Linked DNA regions of Homo sapiens: region 2 is linked to region 1. The links are contacts of gene promoters, found by promoter capture Hi-C in human tissues and cell types (Jung and others, 2019). All regions are on one chromosome and are shown on one strand. Each heading gives the region's core, a stretch centred on a gene start or on the middle of the fragment in contact. The rest is flanking DNA. Distances are from core to core; before and after follow the strand shown.

The links. The method cuts DNA at HindIII sites, captures the fragments that hold promoters and counts their contacts. A contact is called where the count stands out against the background at its distance.
Region 2: a fragment that was not itself captured here is called in contact with the fragment with the promoter of C11orf86 in region 1 in 2 of the 25 tissues and cell types used here (liver and neural progenitor cells).

What each region holds. Positions count from the first base shown.
Region 1 is chr11:66,972,532-66,977,195 of GRCh38, reverse strand. C11orf86 (chromosome 11 open reading frame 86) reads right to left here and starts at 1,892. Exons shown (of 2, transcript NM_001353554.2): 1 at 1,558-1,892; 2 at 187-1,019. The coding sequence starts at 1,833. The coding sequence ends at 945. RefSeq lists an enhancer at 708-1,211. The HindIII fragment of the contact is 14,679 bases long and covers 1-4,475 here.
Region 2 is chr11:66,937,821-66,942,484 of GRCh38, reverse strand. All of the region lies in intron 3 of PC (pyruvate carboxylase), which reads left to right. Among named protein-coding and RNA genes, the nearest start is that of MIR3163, 5.6 kb to the right of the region's middle. The HindIII fragment of the contact is 4,670 bases long and covers 391-4,664 here.

The DNA of each region.
Region 1 (4,664 bases), core at 643-3,142:
CTCTGGGGAGAAAGGTCCAGAGAAGTGGCAGGAAAGGCCCAGCCTGGTGGGGGATCCAGCCCGCCCCGGGCCCTGGTGCCCCTGCCCAAGCATTCTGGGATGCTTTGGGCTTAGCCTGCCTCACAGGGGTCAGCAGGGGTGGGGGGGTGGGGGTCTGAGCCAGCGAGTTAGTCACCAGGCAAATCGTTGACTTTTTCTCAGCATCTTTATTACTGTGTTCGACTCCAGTGCTGGACACTGGATGGGGTGGGGTGGGGTCGGAGATGTCAAAACCAAGAAATCCCTTCCCCACTCTGGGCCTCAGTTTCCCCCTCTGTCACACAGGGAGGAAGACTTCCTCTGCTTCCTTCATCAGGACACCGTGAGGTTCAAAGGTTTTCAGCACAGAGTGCTCAGCCAGGAGGGCCACCCAGCTGTGGTCCTTGCCCCAGAGGGCTCACCATCTGGGAGGGAGACCTGCGCCCTGGCCCACCATCAGCAACTGACAAGAAGGGCAGTTGGGTCATGGCCCAGTGACCAGGCAACGTCCGTGAGCCTCTCGGCCATGGGTCTGGCTTCATCAAGCTCCGTCCTGGAAGTTGACAGCTGGTCGTGTGGGGCAGGAGCGTCCACAGCCCCCATTCCGGGCAGGCTTCTTCTAAACCTTCATAGAATCATAGTCCAAGGCCCCTACCCAAGCCCAGAGGGCAGACAGCTGAGCCCCCTTCTTTTTGACCCTGCTGGGATCTTCAAAGAGAGCTAGTGCTGGAGTGGAAGGGCCAGAGCTAAGAGTGGCAGCCACGTGGCGACTCCAGTGAGCTGGTGGCAGAAGCCTCCTAGGGCCACCCAGCCAAAGTCCAGAGAGCTGTGAAGAGGTAGGTCAGCAGACACGGTGGGCTGGTCCAGGCACAGCAAGGGGGCCACGATGGCTTCCAGCATCTTTAGCTGATGGTGCCCAGTGTGGGCTACGGGGAGGCCGGCTGACTCAGAGTCACGCTGGGGAAGATGGCGACAAAGCTCTCCCACCTTCTTCTTACCTGCTGGAAGACAGAGGTGGGGGAGGTCCCATGGGCTGAGTGGTGGGCTTAGATGTTGTTCCACCCATAGCCACGAGGTGGGGGTAGACCCCAGGTAGAGAAGCACTGCTCATTGGAGACCCTGTCTCTTAGAGGAGGGAGCCTGCAGCCCCCCACAAAGGGGTCCAGATCTCCCCTTTTTCTCTGGGGTGAGAGGGTCACACAGTGTACTTCCCAGGAAGTTGCACTGGCTGATCTCCTTGCCTCCTGCTCTATTCCCCCATCCAGCATACTATCAATCAGCTAAAAACAGCGCTTACCATATCACCCTCCTCCTCTAAAACCTTCAGTGGCTCCCCAGTGCCTGTGGGATAAATCCCAAATGCCTTCAGGGCCCTCTGAAACGTGGCTCTGGGGTGTCTCTCTCTGCACCCTCATCTCCAGGCAGCTCGGTTGTCATCTTGGTACACAGCCTGGGCTGGCTCTGTCTCTGAACCTTTCCTGCCCTGGAATCCCTGCCCACCTGCTGTGGTACCCTCCATCCTTCAGCCCACAGCCATACCTGTTGGTACCGCCTCAGCCACCACCGGCTGCCTCTTCGCTGGGCTTGGATCAGCTGCTCTGTGTCCCCCAGGCTCCCCGGCACCCGCTCCTGGGCAGTGGCATCTGGCCCTTCTGTGCCTCTCTCGAGGCCCTGGGACCTGGACTTCTCTTGCCCCTGTCTGAGGCTTAGCGCCCTGCGGAGTTGGCCCTCCTGGGGCCTCCCCCAGGGCTCCTGCAGCTTTCCATAGGAGGGTCGGGGCTCTCGCAAGGACTGACTTCGCAGCCCTGTTCCCATGGCTCCGGAGGCTGCAGGCACAGGACTGCTCCGGCCCCTCAGCAAGACACTGGCCCTCTGAGGTGGCCCAGTGCCTCCACCCATCTGACAAGAGATCACTGGGGGCAAAGGTTGGTGCTGCCAAGGTGGCTTTCATAAATCAAAGGGCAGGCCACAGGGCCAAGCATCCCTGAGTCACCTCACCACTGCCTCCCCACCTTCTGGGTCAAGGAGTGAAGGCCAAGGGGAGGAAATTGCCACTCCCTCCTTCACCTATCCTTCCCCCCTCCCCCTCCCCTCCCCCTCCCCTCCTCTCCCCCCTCCCTCCTCCCCCATCCTCCCCCCTCCTTCTCCCCTCCCCTCCCCCTTCCTTCCCCTCCCCTCTCCCTCCCCCCTCCTCCTTCTCCTCCTTCTCCTCTAGGCAGCTTCCCTGACTACCTCATCCCTGAAGAGTTTGTTCTCCTCTGAATCTCTATGGCCCCGGCATCCATTGACACTGAGCACCATGGCTTAACAACCAAACAGAGACAGCCTTTTAAGAATTGGGCCAGGCCCGGTGGCTCACGCCTGTAATCCTAGCACTTTGAGAGGCCGAGGCAGGCAGATTGCCTGAGATCAGGAGTTCCAGACCAGCCTTGCCAACATGGTAAAACCCCGTCTCTACTAAAAATACAAAAAATTAGCTGGGCATGGTGGCGGGCGCCTGTAATCCCAGCTACTCAGGAGGCTGAGGCAGGAGAATCACTTGAACCCAGAAGGCGGAGGTTGCAGTGAGCCGAGATTGTGCCACTGCACCCAACCTGGGTGACAGAGCAAGACTGCGTCTCAAAAAGAAATATATTTTTCAAAAAAGCATCAGTATGGCTCCAAGCTAGAACAATCACATTCACAAAGACAGCAAGGAGGATGGCCGTTGCCAGGCACTGGGGGAGGGAGGAATGAAGAATTTAATGGCTGTAAATTTTCAGATTTCATAAGATGAAGAGTTCCAGAGATTGGTTGCACAACAATGGTTGAAATGGTAAACTTTATGGTATATGTGTTATACAATACTGGAGAATTTCTTTTTTTTTTTTTTTTTTTTTAAGAAACAGAAGGAAACAGGACGGCTCCAGGCTAGGAGTCAGGAGGCCTGGATTTTTTCCAGGCCCAGCGCTGCCCCTAATGTCCCAGCAGCACAGCACTATCCTTGAGCACTCAAGCTCTGAGGACCAACTGCCTCTGGGTAAACTGTAGCTTCATTCCTTGCAGCCTTGTGACCTTGGGCACATTTTTCTCCTTCATTCGTAAGAGGGACAAATAACTTGGGTAATTGTTGTGCGTATTAAATGTGGTCCACAGGGCTTGGCACACAGCAAGCCCTCGAACAAAGTGAGTTGGTGGTTGTATTTGTCCGTTCTCCTGCTGCTATAAAGAAAGACCTGAGGCTGGGAGCAGTGGCTCATGCCTGTAATCCTAGCACTTTGGGAGGCTGAGGCGGGTAGATCACTTGAGGTCAGAAGTTCAAGACCAGCCTGGCCAATATGGTGAAACCCCTTCTCTACTAAAAATACAAAAATTAGGCCAGGTTGCAGTGGCTCACAACTGTAATCCCAGCACTTTGGGAGGCTGAGGCAGGTGGATCACAAGGTCAGGAGTTTGAGACCAGCCTGGCCAACATGGTGAAACCCCGTCTCTACTGAAAAAATACAAAGATTAGGCAGGCATGGTGGCGTGTGCCTGTAATCCCAGCTACTCGGGAGGCTGAGGCAGGAGAATTGCTTGAACCCAGGAGGCAGAGGTTGCAGTGAGCCGAGATCGTGCCACTGCACTCCAGCCTGGGCAACAGAGCAAGACTCCGTCTCAAAACAAAACAAAACAAAACAAAAAATTATCCAGGTGTAGTGGTGGGCAACTGTAATCCCAGCTACTCGGGAGGCTGAGGCAGGAGAATCGCTTGAACCCAGGAGGCGGAGGTTGTAGTGAGCTAAGATTGCGCCACTGCACCCCAGCCTGGGCAACAGAGAGAGAATCTGTCTCAAAAAATAATAATAATAAAAATAAGAAATACCTGAGACTGGGTAATTTATAAAGACAAAAAGTTTAATTGGCTCATGGTTCTGCAGGCTGTACAGGAAGCATAGCAGCTTCTGCTGCTGGGGAGGCCTCAGGAAGCTTCCAACCGTGGTGGAAGGCAAAGCGGGGATGAGGCATCTTACATGATAGGAGCAGGAGAAAGAGAGAGCGTGGCGGGAGGTGCTGTACACTTTTTTTTGAGACAGAGTCTCAGTCTGTCGCCCAGGCTGGAGTGCAGTGGCGCGATCTTGGTTCACTGCAACCTCCGCCTCCCGGGTTCAAGTGATTCTCGTGCCTCAGCCTCCTGAGTAGCTGGGACTATAGGTGCCTGCCACCACGCCCAGTTAATTTTTTGTATTTTTGGTGGAGACAGGATCTTGCTATATTTCCCAGTCTGGCCTTGAACTCCTGGGCTCAAGTGATCTGCCCACCTCAGTCTCCCAAAGTGTTTGGAATAAAGGCGTGAGCCACTGTGCTCAGCCTACACACTTTGAAACAACCAGATCTCACAAGAACTCACTATCATGAAAACAGCACCAAGGGGATGGGGCTAAACCATTCACGAGAATCCACCCCCATGAGCCAACCACCTCTAACGCTAGGGACTACAATTCAACATGAAGTTTGGTGCGGACACAAATCCAAACCATATCAGTGGTATTCACTGCCGTGGGCAGATCCTTTCAGTCTCATCTGTAAAATGGGTTGTTTCTTTTTAAATTTTTTTTTGAGATGGAGTCTCTCTCTGGCGCCCAGACTGGAGTGCAGTGGCGCGATCTTGGCTCACTGCAACCTCT
Region 2 (4,664 bases), core at 1,476-3,975, 36 kb after region 1:
GTGACTGGCATATTTCACATAGCATAATGTCCTCAAGGTTCATCCATGTTGTAGCATGTGTCAGAATTTCTTTTTTTTTTTTTTTGAGATGGAGTCTCGCTCTGTCGCCCAGGCTGGAGTGCAGTGGTGCGATCTCGGCTCACTGCAAGCTCCACCTCCCGGGTTCACACCATTCTCCTGCCTCAGCCTCCCGAGGAGCTGGGACTACAGGCGCCTGCCACCATGCCCAGCTAATTTTTTTTGTATATTTAGTAGAGACGGGGTTTCACCGTGTTAGCCAGGATGGTCTCGATCTCCTGACTTCGTGATCCGTCCACCTCGGCCTCCCAAAGTGCTGGGATTACAGGCATGAGCCACCGCGCCCAGCATTTTTTTTTTTTTTGAGATGGAGTTTCACTCTTGTTGCCCAGGCTGGAGTGCAATGGTGCGATCTCGGCTCACTACAACCTCTGCCTCCCGAGTTCAAGCGACTCTCCTGCCTCAGCCTCCCGAGTAGTTGGGATTACAGGCATGTGCCACCACACCCGGCTAATTTTATATTTTTATTAGAGACGGGGTTTCCCCATGTTGGTCAGGCTGATCTCAAACTCCTGAGTTCAGGTGATCTGCCCGCCTCAGCCTCCCAAAGTGTTGTGATTACAGGCGTGAGCCACTGCGCCTGGCCGGAATTTCTTTTTAAGGCTGAATGATGGGGGCCAGGCATGATGGCTCACACCTGTAATCCCAGCACTTTGGGAGGCCGAGGCAGGCAGATCACGAGGTCAGGAGATCGATACCATCCTGGCTAACACGGTGAAACCCCGTCTCTACTAAAAAATACAAAAAATTAGCTGGGCATGGTGGCGGGCACCTGTAGTCTCAGCTACTCGGAAGGTTGAGGCAGCAGAATGGTGTGAACCCGGGAGGCGGAGCTTGCAGTGAGCCGAGATGGCGCCACTGCACTCCAGCCTGGGCGACAGAGCAAGACTCTGCCTCAAAAAAAAAGAAAAGGCTGAATGATATTCCGTTGTATGGATTTTACTTATCCATTCATATATCTGTGGACACTTGGCTTGGTTCCATGTTTGAGCTATTATGAATAATGCTTCCATGAATATGGGTGTACAAATATCTCTTTGAGACTTTGCTTTCAGTTCTTTTGGATATATACCTGATTGCTGGGTCAATGGCAATTCTATTTTTAATTTCTCAAGAGCCTGCTATGCTATTTTCCACATCAGCTACAGCATTTTACATTTCCATTAACAGTGCATGAGGGTTCCAGTTTTTCCACATCCTCACCAACACTTTGTTGTTTTGATAGTAGCCATCCCAATGGGTATGAGGTGATATCTCATTGTAGTTTGGATTTGCATTTCCTTAATGATTAGTGATGTTGAGCACCTTTTTTTTTTTTTTTTTTTTTTAGATGGAGTCTTGCTTGCTCTGTTGCCCAGGCTGGAGTGCAGTGGCACCATGTCAGCTCACTGCAACCTCTGCCTCCTGGGTTCAAGCTATCCTCTTGCCTCAGCCTCCCAAGTAGCTTGGATTGTAAACATGCACCACCATGCCTGGCTAATTTTTGTATTTTTAGTAGAGACGTGTTAGCCAGGCTGGTCTCGATCTCCTGACCTCAAGTGACCACCTGCCTCAGCCTCCCAAAGTACTGGGATTACAGGCGTGAGCCACTGTGCCTGGCCTTGAGCATCTTGTGATGTGCTTATTGGCCATTTGTATATCTTCTATCTTCTTTGGGGAAATGTCTGTTCAAGTCCTTTGCCTTTTTAAATTTTTATTATTTATTTATTTATTTATTTTGAGACAGGGTCTTGTTCTGTTGCCCAGGCTGGAGTACAGTGGCACAGTCTTGGCTCACTGCAGCCTCGACCTCCTGGGCTGCAGTGATCCTCCCACCTCAGCCTCCCTTGTAGCTGTATTTTTTTGTATTTTGTATTTTGTAGCTGTAGTTTTTGTATTTTTTGTGGAGACAGCGTTTCACCATGATGCCCAGGCTGGTCTTGAACTCCTGAGCTCAAGTGATCTGCCTGCTTCAGCCTCCCAAAGTGCTGGGATTACAGACATGAGCCACTGCACCTGGCAAACTCCCAAAATTCAACACACACACACAAAAAACCACCTGATTCAAAATGGGCAGAGGGGCCGGGTGTGGTCCCAACTACCAGGGAGACTGAAGTGGGAGGATCACTTGAGCATGAGAAGTCGAGGCTGCAGTGAGTCGAGATTGTACGACTGCATTCCAGCCTGGACAACAGAGTGAGACCCTGTCTCAAAAAAAAAAAAAAAAAGTTTTGGGAACTTTCTATGTATTCTCGATATTAATCCCTTATCAGATACATGATTTGTAAATATTTTCTTCCATACTGTGGATTGCCTTTTTACCCCATGATAATGTCTTTTGATGCACAAAATTTTTACATTTTCTTGAAGTCCAACTTGTCTATCTTTGCTTTTTGTTGCCTGTGCCTGCCTTTGGTGTTGTATCCAAGAAATCATTGTTAAATCTAATATAAAGCTTTTCCCCTATGTTTTTTCCAAGAGTTTTGTCATTTTAGGTCTTATGTTTAGGTCATGGATATGGTGTCAGGTAAGGGTCCAATTTCATTCTTTCTCATGTGTCTCTGCAGGAGTTGTTTTTTTTTTGTTTTTTCTTGTTTTTGGTTTTTTTTTTTTTTTTTTTTTTGAGACGGAGTTTTGCTCTTGTTGCCCAGGCTGGAGTGCAATGGCACGATCTCGGCTTGCTGCAACCTCTGCCTCCCGGGTTCAAGTGATTCTCCTGCCTCAGCCTTCCGAGTAGCTGGGATTACAGGCATGCGCCACCACACCTGGCTAATTTTGTATTTTTAGTAGAGACGGGGTTTCTCCGTATTGGTCAGGCTGGTCTCAAACTCCTGACCTCAGGTGATCCACCCGCCTTGGCCTCCCAAAGTATTAGGATTACAGGCGTGAACCACTGTGTCCAGCCTCTGCAGGAGTTTTAAGTACAGTCTGTCCTCACCTGTGGCTGTGTTCCCCTTTAAGGTGGTAAAGGAGCACTGTGAGATACAGTATTTCATAGCACAGTTGTTTCTTGCTATCCCCTGGGGACTGGTTCCAAGACCCCCCTATGGATGCCAGAATCCTCCAAGATGCTCAAGTGCTTGATAGAAAATGGCATAGTATTTGCATATAACCTATGCATATCATCTTGTGTACTTTAAATCATCTCTGGATAACTTAAAATACCCAATCCAATGTAAATGCCATGTAAATAGTTCTTATACTGTATTGTTTTTATTTGTATTATTTTTTATTGTTGTATTGTCATTTTTTATTTTGCTTTTTCGAATATTTTTGATCCCCAGTTGGTTGAATGAGTGGATGTGGAACCCACAGATACAGAGGGCTGACCATATAGTAAACGAAGGCAGTGATGTCACTGAGTGACGACTCTGCTCTCAAAGAGGAGGGAAAATGTGCTTCACCATAGGGCCAGTATTAAATGACTGGGGGGTGCAGAGAAGATGAAACCTAAAATGTCAAGTCATTTAACACAGCAATTCCAGTTCTAGAAATGTAACCTGTGGTATCATGGGACAGGCGTGCAAACATATGAGGTGATAGCAGAAAATGGGAAATCACCAAAACGTACATCAGAAAATGATTGCTACATATGAAGTCTGTTCTGTGTCATATGATGTAGCCTTTAAAAATAGCTCATGTATCCTAATCAAGCTGTCACTCTAAATTTATTACCATAGGACGAGAGCTATGATGCCTTTACACAAAAAATATATATTATAAAACAGAATGTATAATATCTCATTTTTTGTTATTTTGGAATGCTATACCAACAATTTGTTCAGGTTGCTGGAGTTACAAAATTATGTGTTTAAAAAATTTTCTATATAGTATTTTTTTCTTTATAGGATGTTTTAATTTTAAGTTATCAATTTAAAAAATCTAATTAGAGAAGGGTGCAATTCATAACACTACTTGGGGCTTACGGTCGAGTACTAGGTACTTAAATATCAGAGTTTGACTCTTTTACCCCTCTTTTCCAAAAAATTGTTTTGGGGGATGAAAACCTCTTTCTAAATGCCATATGAGATATAGATTGCTGGGGAGTGGTGGAGTGAGGACTTCATAAATGCTGTTCCTCCATTTAAAGGAATGAGAAAACTGGCAAAAATGATTAAAACCAACTTTTTCAGAACTCGAGAAATTAACCAAAGGCTTGCAACAATCTAAGACACATTTATTCAGGAAAAATCGCAGAAAAAAGTTATTCTTGTTTTCAACAAAAAGTTATGAGGCATGCAAAGAAACAAGAAAGTATGGTTCATACACAGGAAAGACACAGTCTTTTCCAGCCTAGATGTTGGACTTCATAGACAATGATGTTAAATCAACTATTTTAAATTTGTCTAAAGAACTTAAGGAAAATGTGAGAAGAGTGTCTCACCAAATAGAGGGAGGCCAAGGCAGGTGGATCACGAGGTCGAGAGATCGAGACCATCCTGGCTAACACAGTGAAACCCCGTCTCTACTAAAAATACAAAAAATTAGCTGAGTGTGGTGGCACGCACCTGTAGTCCCAGCTACTCAGGAGGCTGAGGCAGGAGAATCGCTTGAACCTGGGAGGTGGAGATTGCAGTGAGCTGAGATGGCATCACTGTACTCCAGCC